Linked DNA regions of Homo sapiens: all the other regions are linked to region 1. Evidence: promoter capture Hi-C in 16 types of primary human blood cells and fetal thymus (Javierre and others, 2016). All regions are on one chromosome and are shown on one strand. Each heading gives the region's core, a stretch centred on a gene start or on the middle of the fragment in contact. The rest is flanking DNA. Distances are from core to core; before and after follow the strand shown.

Region 1 (4,931 bases), core at 2,327-4,826:
TAGCCAAAAAACCTGAAGTTAGGTCGCCTCCCTGAGTCACCCAAGCACTGGCCTGAGTGCTGCACAGTGGGGTGACCGGGCTTCCCTACATCAAAGAACTACCCTCAGCCCAGGGGCCTGGCTGTCTAGGAAGGGTTCAGAAGGCACACCCAAGACTCAGGCCCCTGCCTCAACTCCACAACACTGAGGGAGGTGAGTAGACTGGGTGGGAGGGGCAGCTCTGCAGCTGGCCAGAGGCTGCGGGGACACAAGGGGTACTCAGCAGACCTGGGCGTCTCTCCACAAGGCTCAGGTACCAGATCTGAAATAACATGAAACACAGTAGGGGGTTCATCAACGTCATCATCATTATTCACTACGTTTGCTTCAGACCTCAACATCACCCACAGATGATTATGGGTTTAGAAATGGAATGAGGTTGAACTTAGGGGGTGACCACCTGACTTCTGTTTTATCTTTGTCTTTTATTCATGCTTCTTTTTACTGAGTGGTCATCCGCAAACAAGCCTGCAACATGACATGTCTTGGACTCAGCTCATTTGATGCACCAACAAGACAAACAGCAGACAACGGCAGCACCACAGAGCTGGAAACAAAATGAATAAATACTTTTTCACAATGAAATGAGCAGAGGGACTGTTGACTTGGGGGGCTCCCGCAAGCCAGAGACAAGTGGGGGGAACTTGCTGACTTCCAAGAAGAAAAGCCAGCAAAGAGGAACCAGTCTCCAGGAAGAATATGAAAATGAAGAGCTGGTATGTAGGTAGCACTTCTTGAGAGCCTTATCTTGCTTAAGCCTCCCCAAACACTGTAAAGTAAGTGGGAAGGAGATTATGGAAAAGAACACTGAAGTTCAGAGAGATCAATATCCCATCCAAGGGTGCATAGCTGGGACTCAGTTCAGGGATGTGAGCAGAAGGGGCTGGGCCTCTGCCATCTCCGATGCTCAGGCACCTCATCACTGAACCAAACACCCAGCAACCCACTGTGAGCAAAAATAAATCTTCCTCCTTCCCGGCCCCTGTGGTCCCTGCCTCTGAGGCCACAGCTAGGAGATATGGTTCCTAGGAAAGGCACAACGAAAAGGGATACTCCCGCCATTTTTGACCTTCAAAGCCCTTCGTGTCTTCACTATGCCCTATGCAGCCCCAGTGACATGGGACCACCCTGGGTCATAGGTGCTCACCTGCTTGAAAGAATAGGTCAGAGGAATGTCAGAGAAGCCCCTCCTCCCTGCACTGCACCACCCACTCTCACACAGTCTGGCCTTAGTTTCTCGACCGATGGTGATGTCTGGGGCAAGTGTCTGCACGCCTCTGTTTACTCACCCGTAAAATGGGGAGAAGCGCATTTGCCTCCACCCCTCCTGCCGATGGGAGCAGAGGTAGAGCCTGCTTGTCTGGACAAGCCCAGAGCTAGGCCCATCCTCCTGACCTGCTCTCTGGGAGCCACCTACTGTGACAAAGTCTATGGCTGAGTGCTCCAGTCTGATCTCAGGCTCCCAGGATCACGTGGGTATCAAACGGAGGAGCTGCAGGTGAGCCAGTCGGCATCTTTGCAACTGGCTCCTGAGACCAGACGCCTCGGGTCACAAGGATGTCTGAGTGTGAGGTGAGGTGGCTTTCATTCCTGACTTCATAGCCAACAAAGTGGTGACTGTCTATCTTTGACCAAACAGGCTCGACTATCTTCCCTAAAGGAGCAGAGTTCTAAGCTCAACCCCATTTGCCTCCCCCATCAATCCAGCAATTATTTAATTAACACAGTTTCCTCTATAAATTTTATTTCAGATTTTTTTTTAAAATCCTGGCAGTGACATAATTTCAACCATCAAGGACCCCCGATAAAGTCTCAGGATGGGAGTTCAGTTTGTAAAGCATCTCTAGTTGCAGCTTCCTGGGGCCTGCTGCACACACTGGCCTTGGGCCCCTGGCCTCCATCCATGCAGGAGGGGTTTGTCACTACTCCCTGACGGTCCTCTTGGGCTCAGGCACCCAAACGCTAGGGCTCAGCACCCAGCCGGGGGCCGTGGCATAGCACATCTGCCCAGATGTTTTCAGGAGATCTGAGTGGGAGCCATGGGGCCAGCCAAGAGGGCAGGGAGCCCCGGATTTGCAGAAGCAGCTGAGGAAAGAGCTGGCATTGCTCAGACTCGCCAGTGTTAGCCAGCCGATATCGGTCAAGGCTGCCCCGCTCGAGGGTCCATTATCCCCTTTCCCCGGCCTCAGCTGTGCACTCCAGGCCATAACAGCACAAGACCTTTCCACAACCCCAGGGTAAGGGTCAGATGTGGGGTTTCCAAAAGCTTCAAAACTTACCCCTCTATCCAGCTCTATCCAGAAGGACACCAGGGGACAGAGAGATGGACACGGAGGCCTCAAAACAGGAAAATAAGGAGACCCCTCCCCATTGTTGATTACTTGGGGTTACCTACAGAAAGAGATGAACTGAAGGGGCTGAGCCTATCTGAGGATTAAAGCACAGCTTTTGTCAGGAGTCCGTGCCTCCGGTCTTTGTTCCAGCGACCTGAGGAATGGCATGCATCAGAAGCCGCTTCCGTGTCTCAGATGGGGCCTGGGTCAAGTCCTGGGAGTTGATGGAGCGTTTCCCAAATCGCAAAAGGAGAGGAGCTAGACTTACCTCCCCCTCCTGGGAAGTAATGCGCGACAAGAATTTAAACTCTTAAAACGATTAGCAGCAAAGGTCTCATGTGCTTTTTTTTAATTATCATTTTTTAATCGAGGTATAATTTATGCATTTAAAAAATCAGATCAATTGCCCCCCGGGCTCTGGGATGGAAGGCGGTGTGCGCCTGCGAAGGTCAGAGGCCCAGCGGCGCCAGGGCTCCTCGGCGGAGAGCCGCCCGGGTCCGGCGCTTTGCTTTCGCCTTCTGCCCCACCGCGGGCGAAGCCCCAGGGCCCCGGGGAGACTCCAGGCCGGCTGGGCCGGGGTGCGCCCGCCGGCTGTCCGCGCTCGGGCAGGGTGGGGCGCAGCGGGCGTCTGTCCTGCTAGCGGGGATCGGGCGGCTGGACCCAAGAGCAGGGCACGTGCGCAGCGACGCGGGGCGGCCCCGCCAGGAGCCCCGACCCGGGCGCGGCGCAGGGCCCGGCGGAGAGCGCGCATTCCCGAGCGCCGCGAGCCGGCCGAAGTCGGGCGAGCGCGCCGTGCGGCGGCTGGGAGTGGGCTGCATGTGCCGCGCGGGGAGCCCGCCCGACTTCGGGGAGGCAGCGGGGCGCCGTGGCCCCGCGGCTCAGCTCCCTGCCGGGTCGGGTGTCCCAGCCCTGCGACTTCCGGGGCCCGGCGGCTCCTCGGGGAGCTCGTCCACAGGCAGCCTCCGGGGCGAGAGAGCGCGCGGCGCGGGCGCCGGGACGGTCCGCGGCACGCGGGTGGAGCCGCCGGCGCTCGGGCTCCCGCAGGGGCGGCGGGCGGGGCGGGGTGAGGCGGGCCGGCCGCCCTCCCCTCTCCTCCCTCCCGCAGCCCGCCCTCCCTTCCTCCGGTCCCGCAGCCAATTAGGCGGCCCCCTCGGGCGGGAGGCGTGGGGCGCTGCATAAAGCGGCGGGGAGCTGCCACCCCGGGAGCGGGCTGCGCAGTGTCCGGGCCGAGCCGGTGCGCCGCAGACTAGGGCGCCTCGGGCCAGGGAGCGCGGAGGAGCCATGGCCACCGCTAACGGGGCCGTGGAAAACGGGCAGCCGGACAGGAAGCCGCCGGCCCTGCCGCGCCCCATCCGCAACCTGGAGGTCAAGTTCACCAAGGTGAGGCGGGCGCCCCTCCCACCCGACGGCCGCGGGCCCCTGCGCTGGGCAGCCAGACTCGGGGCGGCGGGGGCGAGGGAGCAGCGGGCCGGGGGTCCGCCGGGCGCCGCCGAGACCCGAGCCTCCCTGCCCGGGCGCGGCTCTCCAGAAACCGCACCTTTCGCGGGACGTCTCGGGCGGGATCGCAGGCGGCGGGGCTCGGCGCTGTGAGCCTCGAAGCCGGGAAACCGAGGCCGTCCAGCGCCCGCGCGGGGCCGGGCCGCCCGCATCCCTGCGAGGCCCCGACGTGTCCCTGCGCTGCCCGCTTTGATCGCGAGTGGAGGTGCGCGCCGCGTTGACTCGGAGCGCGCTGGTTTTGGGGAGCTCCCTCCCCAAAAACCCCTGCGATGATTTCCAGGGTGGACGAGTCTGGCTTTGAGAGGGTCGGAGGGTCCGAGAGCGCCAAGAGAGAGTCCGGGAGGCAGATGGCGGAGCTGCAGTTGGAAGACTGGGGAAGCGGGTCCTCCGAGCAAAGCGCAGCGGGCGCCTTCCGTGCTTAGTTTATACCCGGCTCAGCAGCAGAACGAGGAGGAGTAGGAAGGTGCTCGCTTACTGACGAAACCTCCCCGGAGCCCAGAGGTCCCGGTGTTTACACACAAGGCGCGCGCTCCGGAAGGTCGCAGACCTGGGCCTTTGGGAAGCGGTGGGTCGCGAGGCCGCAGAAGCGCACGGTTCTCTGCCTCCTCGCTCTGTGGGCTGGGAGGCTACAGCGTTGGCAGAACGGCGAGATTACCTGCCCGGGGCAGAAAGGAATAAAAGAAGATGGTGAGGCCTCCGAGGCCTCTGAGCTGGGGCTGAGGAGGGCCGAGAGACCCGGGTCCGGGAGCGCGACCCGATGGAGGACACCCCCAGGCTGTCTGGCGTGCGCGTCTGTCGTGGGCCGGTGCTGGGGCACTTTAGAGGCACAGGCCAGGCCGAGAGCCATTGCCTTAACTTTCCCCACCTTTGGCTTCTCTTGATTTTTGCTTTTACCCATAGCCCCCAACTCCAGCTGACACCGCACTTAGAGAATTTCCTCATCCGTTTTACTTTAAGAAGTAGCAATTATCTTTCTCAAAGAATTTTAATCAAGCGGAGAAAGTTGCAGGGCACTATGTGTGGCCTTCAGATTTGGGTCTCTTGGCACTTAATTCCCAATGT
Region 2 (4,912 bases), core at 312-2,811, 160 kb before region 1:
AAGGTAGGTCATCCTAATAATACTTGTCCACACAAGTGGCAACCCCTTGCCAAAGAAATGCAAACAGAAGCCTGGGATGTTTCCAGCTCTCCTTAACTTCCTTCCCCGACCTCCCTGACACCAGCCAATGGGTCCTTTAAGAAGTGTGAGAGAGCCAGTAGATGGTAGGCCCCCGCTTCAAACTCGCCATCTTGTCCCTTGATCCAGTGACTATACCTGGAATTTGGCCTCTAAGCGAGTGTTTCTTTTTGCACTTGGACTTCTTGAGAGATTACTCATTACTCAGGAGATAACACCAAAGCATTCTCAAAACCAATCTTTGGAACTGGCTTCCAGGATTATACATGCAGGATTAGTCATACAGAAAATCCTTAAAGATAGCAAATTTGGGTCCTTTGAGAGTGTATTTGGTTTGTGAAAACAAAGCCATTGGTAACCAAGCCAAAAGCAAACATGTGATTCTAACCCATGAATTCAGAATTTTTCAGGCAGCTGACCCTAAAGACACTTTTTTCAAACAGGTGACTCCTTTTCATTAATTCATTAATCAGTTGTTGAGATAGTGAAAGAAAAAAGAAACTGAAAGAAATCATCATTACCAGAAATACTTGGGTTCAAATTCTAGCTCTAAAACTTCTTAGCTGTGTAACTTTGGGCAAGTCACTTAACCCGTCTGGGCCATATCTGAAAATTTTCCCTAAGGGAAAAAAAAAACTAAGGTTATTGCTCTTCCTTTTTGCTGCTTCTCCTCCTCTGAGTTGAGGCTCCTTTCCTGATGGAACATTGCCTTCATTCCCCTCTTCTCCCTCTACCCAGGGGTGTATTGGTAAATTGGAACTCTGGGGAAAAAAGTCACAAAGCCCTGATCTGTGGCTTTTGCCAATTTCTGTGGTGTACATACTTCCACCATGGCTGACTTTAATTTCCCAACAGTTAAACAACAGGTTCACGAAGTTCTTAAATATTTAACAGCTGGGCCCTGTGGACCATGGGTGCTGGCTGCAGCATGTCACACTGCCTCTACCCTCTCCCCTTTCTCCTTTTTACTTTCCTGAGAGCATGGTGGATGTCGTCTGATATAATTTCCATCCATGTCTCTGCTTTTTATATTTAACCAGCTTCCAAAAATAGTTTCCTTACTTCCATTAGTTCTTAACCAGGGAGTGTGCTGGAATTCAGGTGGTCTGGTCACTGCCTCTCATCTTCCCGAATTCTTCTTGGCCATATCACCAGCAGGAATTTTCAAAGGGGACACAGCGCTCTTTGTTTTTTAAAGGGCTGTGCCAATTTGCCTTTGGGTTTCCTCATTCTATCAGAGTAGAGTGCTGATCTAGTACCTGTATAATTCTCCTTGGCAGAAGTGCTCAGGGCTTTTTTTTTTCTTTTCCTCATCTAATCGCATTCCACTTCTAACAGCCTGGATGAGTTGTGCAAACCCAAGAAATAAAGAAAAGAACAGGCAGTTCTGATATCGTCACAGGGCCACTTAATGACATGGGCATCAGAAGGAGAGAGTACCATCCACAGACATTCTCAAAGCAATGCGCCTGACGCATCAGAAGATCCTCCTTGTGGGGCCAGACTTAGGCATCAAAAACATCCATGTATTATGATCTCACTCTTGTGAGAAGGACCTCTCAGCACCCAAAGGTCAATAGTGATATTTACTGGGCACCTACTATGTCACAGACTATTTCATTTCGGCTCCCCCATAGCCCTAGGCAGGTGGAATCATTATTCTTGTTTTCTAGTGAGGGTATGTCACATGCCCAGGATTGGCAAAAGAGTGGGGCAATTGTCCTGCTCATAAGTCTTGGTGGGAGTGTATAAGTTAACATAATCCTCCAAAAGGCAATTTTGCCCTACATCTCAAAGTCTTAAAAATCTTCATCATGGCTGGGCATGGTGGCTCATGCCTGTAATCCCAGCACTTTGGGAGGCCAAGGCAGGTGGATCACTTAAGGTCAGGAGTTTAAGACCAGCCTGGTCAATGTGGTGAAACCTCATCTCTACGAAAAATACAAAAATTAGCTGGGTGTGGTGGCAGGCACCTGTAATCCCAGCTACTCAGGAGGCTGAGGCAGGAGAATCGCTTGAGTTCGGGAGGCGGAGGTTGCAGTGAGCCGAGATAGTGCCACTGCACTCCAGCCTGGGCAATAGAGTGAGACTCCATCTCAAAAAAAAAAAAATATTTATCATGTCACTTAATTGTGTTAGCCAGGATAAGCTCACTTCTGTAACAAACAACCCTCAAATCCTAGTGACAGAAGAAAGCAGGGGTTGGCAAACTCTCTGTATGGACTGGGGGGAAATACTTTTAGGCTTTGCAGGCCATACGGTCTTGCAACTCTCACCGCTGCTGTTGTCCTGTGAAAGCAGCCACAGATGGGATGTAAATGAACTGGCGTGACTGTGCTCCAATCAAACTTTATGTAAGGGCACTGAAATTTGAATTTCATATAATTTTCCTGTGTCACAAAATCCTATTCTTTAAATCCTTTTTTAAAACATAAAACCTGGCCGGGCGCGGTGGCTCACGCCTGTAATCCCAGCACTTTGGGAGGCTGAGGCGGGTGGATCACGATGTCAGGAATTCAAGACCAGCCTGATGAACATGATGAAACCCCGTCTCTACTAAAAATACAAAAATTATCCAAGCGTGGTGGCGCAGGCCTGAAATCCCAGCTACTTGGGAGGCTGAGGCAGGAGAATCGCTTGAACCTGGGAGGTGGAGGTTGCAGTGAGCTGAGATCGGGCCTCTGCACTCCAGCCTGGGCAACAGAGCAAGACTTTGTCTCAAAAAAAACAAAACAAACAAAAACAAACAAACAAAAAAACCCATAAAACCCATTTTGAGCTCACATACAAAAGTCCATACAAAAACAGGCAGGCGGCTGGATTTGGCCTGCAGTCTGCAGTTGGCTGACCCCTGGCTTAAAGCACTGGAATTTTCTTTTCACTGATGCAGTGGTCCCACATGGGGGATCCTGGCTGGGCTGGAAGGCTCTCCCAGGTGGCTCTTATTCAGTGGCAACCCAGGGAAGGGACCCGCGGTGCTTCTGTCCTGTGCCCTGCCCTCTCTAGTCCTCAGGGGCTTCCCTATTCAGCAGGCAGATGGAGAGAGGTCATGGAGTCTTGTGTGGGAGGTTTTCATGGATGGTTTGGAGGTGGCTCCCGTCATTTTCCCCACATTCCTTTGTTGGAAGTCAGACATGCAGCTGCTCTGAACTGAACAAGAGATGGGAAACAGAGTGTAGCAGTGTGCACAGGGAGACCCCGGAGCAGTGTGTTCACTGACCAAAGACCATGCCATGTTCACATGTATTTCCACGCTGTAGCATGACTACAAAGGTACAGGCGGGAAGCTAAGCTGGCCTGGAGGGACTTTGCAACAATGGCTGAGCCTGAGTGAATCACATGGACCTGAGCCCTGGGTGCCCCTCCACCTGTTCTTGGGCCTGGATCCTCAAGGTCATCACTGCAGTGCGTGGTACCATGCAGTGAACTCTGTAGAACGTTTCGGCCTCTTCTGTTGCACCTTGGGGACATAGCCACAGAGGCCAAGGCCACAGGTGGGCTGGAGACACTCCAGTGGCACAGGGCTGACCCCTTTGGACTGAGTAAACCCAGAGCTCCTGAAGTTTTGGGTTAAGGGGAATGGGATCGGGGGTGTGGGGAGCTGCTAACAGGGGCAAGTGGAGCCCCTGCTGAAGCAGCCATGCCTGGAGGCTGCCCCACAAGAACAGACAAGCTGCTTTCCACCAGCTTCTGTCAAGGGATGCTTGCAGAAGGAAGAGAAGCCAGGAGGGGCCAGAGGCAGCCTGGGACTCATGGTTGTTCCTAAAAGGGACATGAAACTTGACCTCCTAAATGAGGCCAGCCCAGAATGGATCAGAGGTCACAGATTTCTTGAAAGCAATCAGAGGGAAGTAGCCTATACCTGGTTCCATTTGGGCACTGTGGCCTCCCAGGCCTCCTGCGGACTCTAAGCTTGGGAAGTAGGCAGAGGGCAGGGTGGTCTATGTGGTCACTCCTCATGGCGTGGACCACCAGCCAGCCCCACCGCATCACCAGGACCCGCATGTAACCCTCCGGGGATGCCTGCTGCAGATGGGGCCCAGCTCGTGATACACTTGGGAGAGATTCATGGTTTACCAGGCCCCATGGGTGTTTTCAGGGGCTGGGTTGGGGTGGGGGTGGGTGGTGAGCAGTGAGAGAATACTCTCTCTCTAGGCGATGCCAGAACTTCCTTACAGGGAATACAGGAGCCTTAGGGATAGCAGGGCTCCAGTTTCCCAGCCCTCACTGACTCACCATGGGGCTCAGACAATTTGCTGAAACTCCTTACGTCTCAGTTTGCTCGTCGGTGGAATGCGGGCAGAAATGCCTCACTAGTGCACTGTGCATGTGCCCTGCCCACATATGCCCACCCTGAGTCCAACACACACTGGGCCTGCCCTAGTATGCATGGGCCTGCCGGGTGGCTGCCAAGGGTCAGGGCCTTGCAGGACACTCGAGATCCTGGGCTTGGGGCTGCAGTCTGGAATGCGGAGGAGGGCTGTGGTCCCCCAGGCTTCCTGGGGACTCTGAGCCTGGGGGAGAGTAGGAGGGTCTCTATGCTCCCTCCTCACTGCGTGGAGCAGCGGCTTTGCTGGGCTTCCTTCTACCATCCCCATTACCCTGATTTCATTCTTATCCCATTCCTTTCCTCCTGGGAAGGCCTGGAATGATGATATGTCCCAGTGCCATAGAGTAGCACGGATACCAGCACACACACAGAGTACTCGGCATGAACCCGGCTCTGTTCCACTGACGCTCACTTGTGGCACCCTCCCAGCATCCAATAAGGAACATACTGTGACTGCTGCCATTTTAAAGACGAGAAAAGCGAAGCACCTGAGAATGTCTCTTT
Region 3 (4,396 bases), core at 379-2,878, 230 kb before region 1:
CCTTTTTTTCTTTTTTAAATAGAGAATGCAAGCCACAGTTTCTGTTTTATAAACACGAACTTTTGTATTATAAATACAAAATAAGAAAAGACAGTGATATGTTAGGTGTTATGAAGGGTGAAAACTTTATATAAACTTCAAAAGGCTGCTTTCTGCATCTGCATCAATGTAATTTCATGATTCTCTACCAATTTTCATTTATAGAAAGAATCTCTATAATCAAATTATCATTCGAGTTCATGCCCCCCGGAATATCTGTAGGAATACAGTTTATTATCTGCTCCTCCACTCGGAAGGAGCCCTGTGTCTGTCTAGTCTGCTCTCAGAACTTTCTCTTCATGAGCAGCCACATCATAGAGAGGAGCCTTACAACTTCTTGAATCCCACAGCTTGACGGTGTTATATAAGGATCCTGAAATCTGCTGTGGTTCATGGGTAGGAGACCGTTTTACTGATGTCTCCCAACCTGTATGTGAGGTTAGGGACGGCAACACGAAAGAACCATCTTTAGTTTGGGGATCCCACAGTCTGATATGCCTATCTGTGCTTCCAGATGCTAAACATTTACAAAGTGGAGAATAGGAAATACAATTAAACACTTTATTTCCTGTAAAGTTGACTTAAGATTGCCAAACGCGACATCCCACACGCTAATTTCATGGTCCCAAGATACGCTGCAGATTTCTTCAGCATCTGACCACAGCACTGAGGAGATTGCTTCCTTGTGGCCAGAGAAGGTCACTATGGGAGTCCTTGTTAGTCCCAACTGCTCTGTTTTCTGTTTCTTTCTTGGTCAGTTTGTGGATTCCTCCATTTCATCTTCTTCTGTAGGGACAGTAGACCAGATCCTTAGCATCTTATCTCAGGAGCCACTGCAAAATTTAGTTCCTGAGCTATCAATAGCTGTGGAATCTACACTTGGGCAGCAGCATAGGGTTTTCACTTTGTTTCTCTGGACATTCCACTCCCATAAGAGAATAGTCTGATCCATAGAGCCACTCAATAGTAACACAAACTGTCTTTTGTCACCCAGGCCACATCTGTTAACAATATCCATGTGTCCCACAATTGTCAATGTTGACTTTCCTTCCAAGGACCAGATTCGAGAAGTCTCATCATAAGAACCAGTCAAGATCCATACCTCTGTCCCTTGAATTGAACTGGTCCACTCATCAAGGACACTTCATTCTGGTTGGGGTGCGGTGTACTTCTCCGCGTATTCTCTTTCCACAACTTCTTTTAAGGAGGTGTTCTCCCGTTCCATGTGTTTGACCAAGGGCATTCACAGAAACTGACCCTTAATAAGGAAATCAAACTCCACATATTTGTGGAACTCATTTCTGCCCTTTAGTAATTAATTGATGATGTTACTAAGGTCAACACTTTAAGAGACAGCAGGGATTGAGAAGGCAACATCATTGATGGCCTATTTCTTGTGATCAGTGTAGAAGCTTGTTTGCAGCTGAGCCATGTCAGGGAGTGTACACGACTTGCCCACAGTTATGGGTTAGTAGGCTGAGAACGGGAGCTCCTGTCTCTTAGGACTACAAAGAGACAGCTCAAAATTACACTGCACAGGTAAGCGAGAAGTTGCGGTGTAATCCCGGACTCTGTTTTCTCTCCATGGGTCTCCTCCTGATTTTCATAATAACACTGAGACATGATTTGCCTTTCTCTCATTCCTTTTATCATGAGTGTCAGTTTTTTCCAGAGACGAGGTGGTGTGATTGATGTGACTTATCTCAACAGATTGAATTCAGAAGCATATATGAAAATTCAGCTATCATCTATTAAACCATACATTAAAAGCTTTGCAAAAATGTGAAAGAATGACGTTCTTGTTAAATTTTTTTTTGGTTTTGGAAAATATAGTTACTTTTCATAATGATGTGTTATTTATGTTAACATGTAATGGTTTATTAGAATGAATTTAAAAGTATTTCTAAAATGTCTGTTTTAACTTATAATATGGCATTTACTATAGAGATAGCCCACATAAAAGTTTCTGGGGGTTCGCAATAATTTTTTAAAGTGTAAAGGAGTTTTGAAAACAAAAAGTTTGAGAATGACTGAAAAATGGCATTCAACTTGACTTTAAGCATGTTACTTAATCTCTCTGAGACTCTATAAAATGGGGATGATGATCAAAGTACTTCCCTCGTAAAAGGATGAAAGGAGTTAATACATGTCATGAGCTCTTAACAATACATGGCGCAGAGTAAGTATTCAATATATATTAGCTTTATTATCATGTTTAATATGAAAGCAAAACTTCCTTGACTCCAAACACTACTGAAGCACAGTTGAAGAATTCTTCCTTGTTTTTGGAGCCATCTGTATTGTTTTTGTAAAACAAAATATTCCAAAGGGAAAGAAATAGGATTTTGTGATTTTTCTTTTGAATTGAGATATAACGGGTTTTTATTGGCAAGTGATCAGGGTGTGGAAGCTTGAAGCGATGTAGATTCAGAATACCTTGAGGCGCTTTTTCACACCCCCTTCTGCTGCACTCCTCAACTGTCAGCCTTACAACCAAGGTTCTGCTGTGTTCAGAATCACGGAAAACAGGTGAGCAGATCTGGAAAGCTTGTTTGGAAAGCTCCACAGAGACCGTGGTGGGTGTCCGGGCTCCAGTGTCCTAGACCCAGAGCTGAAAGGGAGGCTCACAATAGGGGACATCTCTTTCAGTCCCCACACTTTTCAGATTGAGAAGCCAAGGCTCAGAGGAATGATTGGCTCACAGTGGCTCACCCAGCGTGAGAGAGACCTAGTCAGGACGAGAACCAGAATTTTCCTGATTTATAACAGAAAGGATATGAGGCTTAGAATCAAAACTGTTTTTGGTCTCAGTTGAAAGCCTTAATTGGTTGTCTGATATTAAGCAACTTGTTTACATCTGATACTCAGTTTTCTTATTGGTAAAATGGAGTTGAAAATATCCACCATCCCACGGTTGTGAAAAGGATCAAATAAGGCATCGCATGAAGGTCCTAGGACACTTTGAGTTGGTATCTTTCCGGTCCTTTGCATGTCAAGTCCATAGAGAGAACTTCCAGGGAAATGAACAGTTCTTTTCAAAAGTGCCTTAAATATTGTGCTTTGTGGCTTTGTAACATTTTCTTTTTTCTGTCTTTTTAGGACAGCCCAGAAACTTGCAGGACCTGTGCCGAATTAAAATTCGACAATGTATAGGCCTTCAAAACCTAAAGCTACTTGATGAACTACCAATTGCCAAGGTCATGAAAGACTACTTAAAACACAAATTTGATGATATCTGATATGCCAGAACTGTGAGCAAGATTAGGAGTTCTATTCTAGATACTTAAAAGGCTTTTTGCCTTGCACAAAGTATATCCTATGCAATTTCTGATTTGCTGTGAAATCAGAAAGCAGGTATACACTTTTGGGTTTTCTGTTTGTTTGGTTGGTTTTCATTGTAGGGGAGGGATTTTTTATATATATATAAAAACACACACCACATGCTTGAAGGTCTTAATTTGGTTTCTTGGTCCAAGTTTAAGAGGTCCAAGCTTTGTATACAATACTGCATTTAGAAAAATTGTCTTTTCTTAAATGACACAAGCAGGTTTAGAGTGGAGAATTTACCCTTTCCAAATTTATGGTTCCTTGGTAAGCACGGTATTCTAAACCAGCAGAGCACTTGTTAACGTTTGGAGGCACAGTTTCACCCAGGGCGACCCTGGGTTCTTTTGGAAAATGCCCTAAGAAATGTTTGAAGTAACGCTGTCACCTCATTCATTTTTAATGAGTACAAACTGGCCGTTTCAAACTGTTCTTTTTCCTAATTAATGTAGCTTTCGGATGACATAAATCCAGTATCTCTGCTTATGACATAAATCCAGTACCTCTGCTTTTCTTTTGCTGTGCTCTTGTTTTTAACTTATTTTTTTTTTAACAACTGTAGTACACTACCCTGAGACACTGCATCTCGATTTCTATCTCTAGTTAGAGTTGTACTTTTAAAAAAATTAACGGGAAAGAAAATAACTTTGTGAAGCCAGTGTATTCTGTTTTTAAAACTGTGCCTGCAGTGCAATACTCCTTCTGGTGTATTTTATCCATTATTTCACTTGCTGGTCGTCATTTCACAGCCAGCTTTGACATGCCCGTGAGGACAGGAGCCGCCGCTTCAGTTGTCACTGCAGAGCCATCGTATGTCAGTTGCAATTTCCATCTGAAGCTATGTCTTTGACTTCACTTTAAGCAGAAAATTTTGTACCCTGGTGGTCGAGTCTTCCCTTAAAAATTGTTAAATCATTTGGCTTTAATGGTTCAATAATTTGGGGTGGCTTCATGGTGTTTCTTTTCTTCCCAGTTTAAAAAAAAAACTTTTTAAGCGTAAAATCTTTAAGGGGTACACATTTATAAGTCTGGC

What was found. The method cuts DNA at HindIII sites, captures the fragments that hold promoters and counts their contacts. A CHiCAGO score of 5 or more calls a contact.
Region 2: a contact is called between a fragment that was not itself captured here and the fragment with the promoter of ALDH1A3 in region 1, in 1 of 17 cell types (endothelial precursors). The highest score is 6.9, in endothelial precursors.
Region 3: a contact is called between a fragment that was not itself captured here and the fragment with the promoter of ALDH1A3 in region 1, in 5 of 17 cell types (M1 macrophages, endothelial precursors, M2 macrophages and 2 more). The highest score is 11.7, in M1 macrophages.

What each region holds. Positions count from the first base shown.
Region 1 is chr15:100,876,255-100,881,185 of GRCh38, forward strand. ALDH1A3 (aldehyde dehydrogenase 1 family member A3) reads left to right here and starts at 3,577. Exons shown (of 13, transcript NM_000693.4): 1 at 3,577-3,752. The coding sequence starts at 3,654. It overlaps LOC124903575 (collagen alpha-1(I) chain-like), which reads right to left and starts at 3,549. Exons shown (of 1, transcript XM_047433433.1): 1 at 2,692-3,549. The coding sequence starts at 3,549. The coding sequence ends at 2,767. GCAWKR (gastric cancer associated WDR5 and KAT2A binding lncRNA) reads left to right here. Exons shown (of 4, transcript NR_160703.1): 4 at 1-624. RefSeq lists a silencer at 3,498-3,617 and an enhancer at 4,109-4,623. The HindIII fragment of the contact is 4,913 bases long and covers 2,304-4,931 here.
Region 2 is chr15:100,722,178-100,727,089 of GRCh38, forward strand. All of the region lies in intron 1 of LOC105371024 (a long non-coding RNA gene), which reads left to right. Among named protein-coding and RNA genes, the nearest start is that of ASB7, 120 kb to the left of the region's middle. RefSeq lists an enhancer at 1-821. The HindIII fragment of the contact is 4,853 bases long and covers 1-3,988 here.
Region 3 is chr15:100,645,185-100,649,580 of GRCh38, forward strand. It overlaps ASB7 (ankyrin repeat and SOCS box containing 7), which reads left to right. Exons shown (of 6, transcript NM_198243.3): 6 at 3,139-4,396. The coding sequence ends at 3,278. It also overlaps the pseudogene WDR12P2. Among named protein-coding and RNA genes, the nearest start is that of ASB7, 45 kb to the left of the region's middle. The HindIII fragment of the contact is 358 bases long and covers 1,450-1,807 here.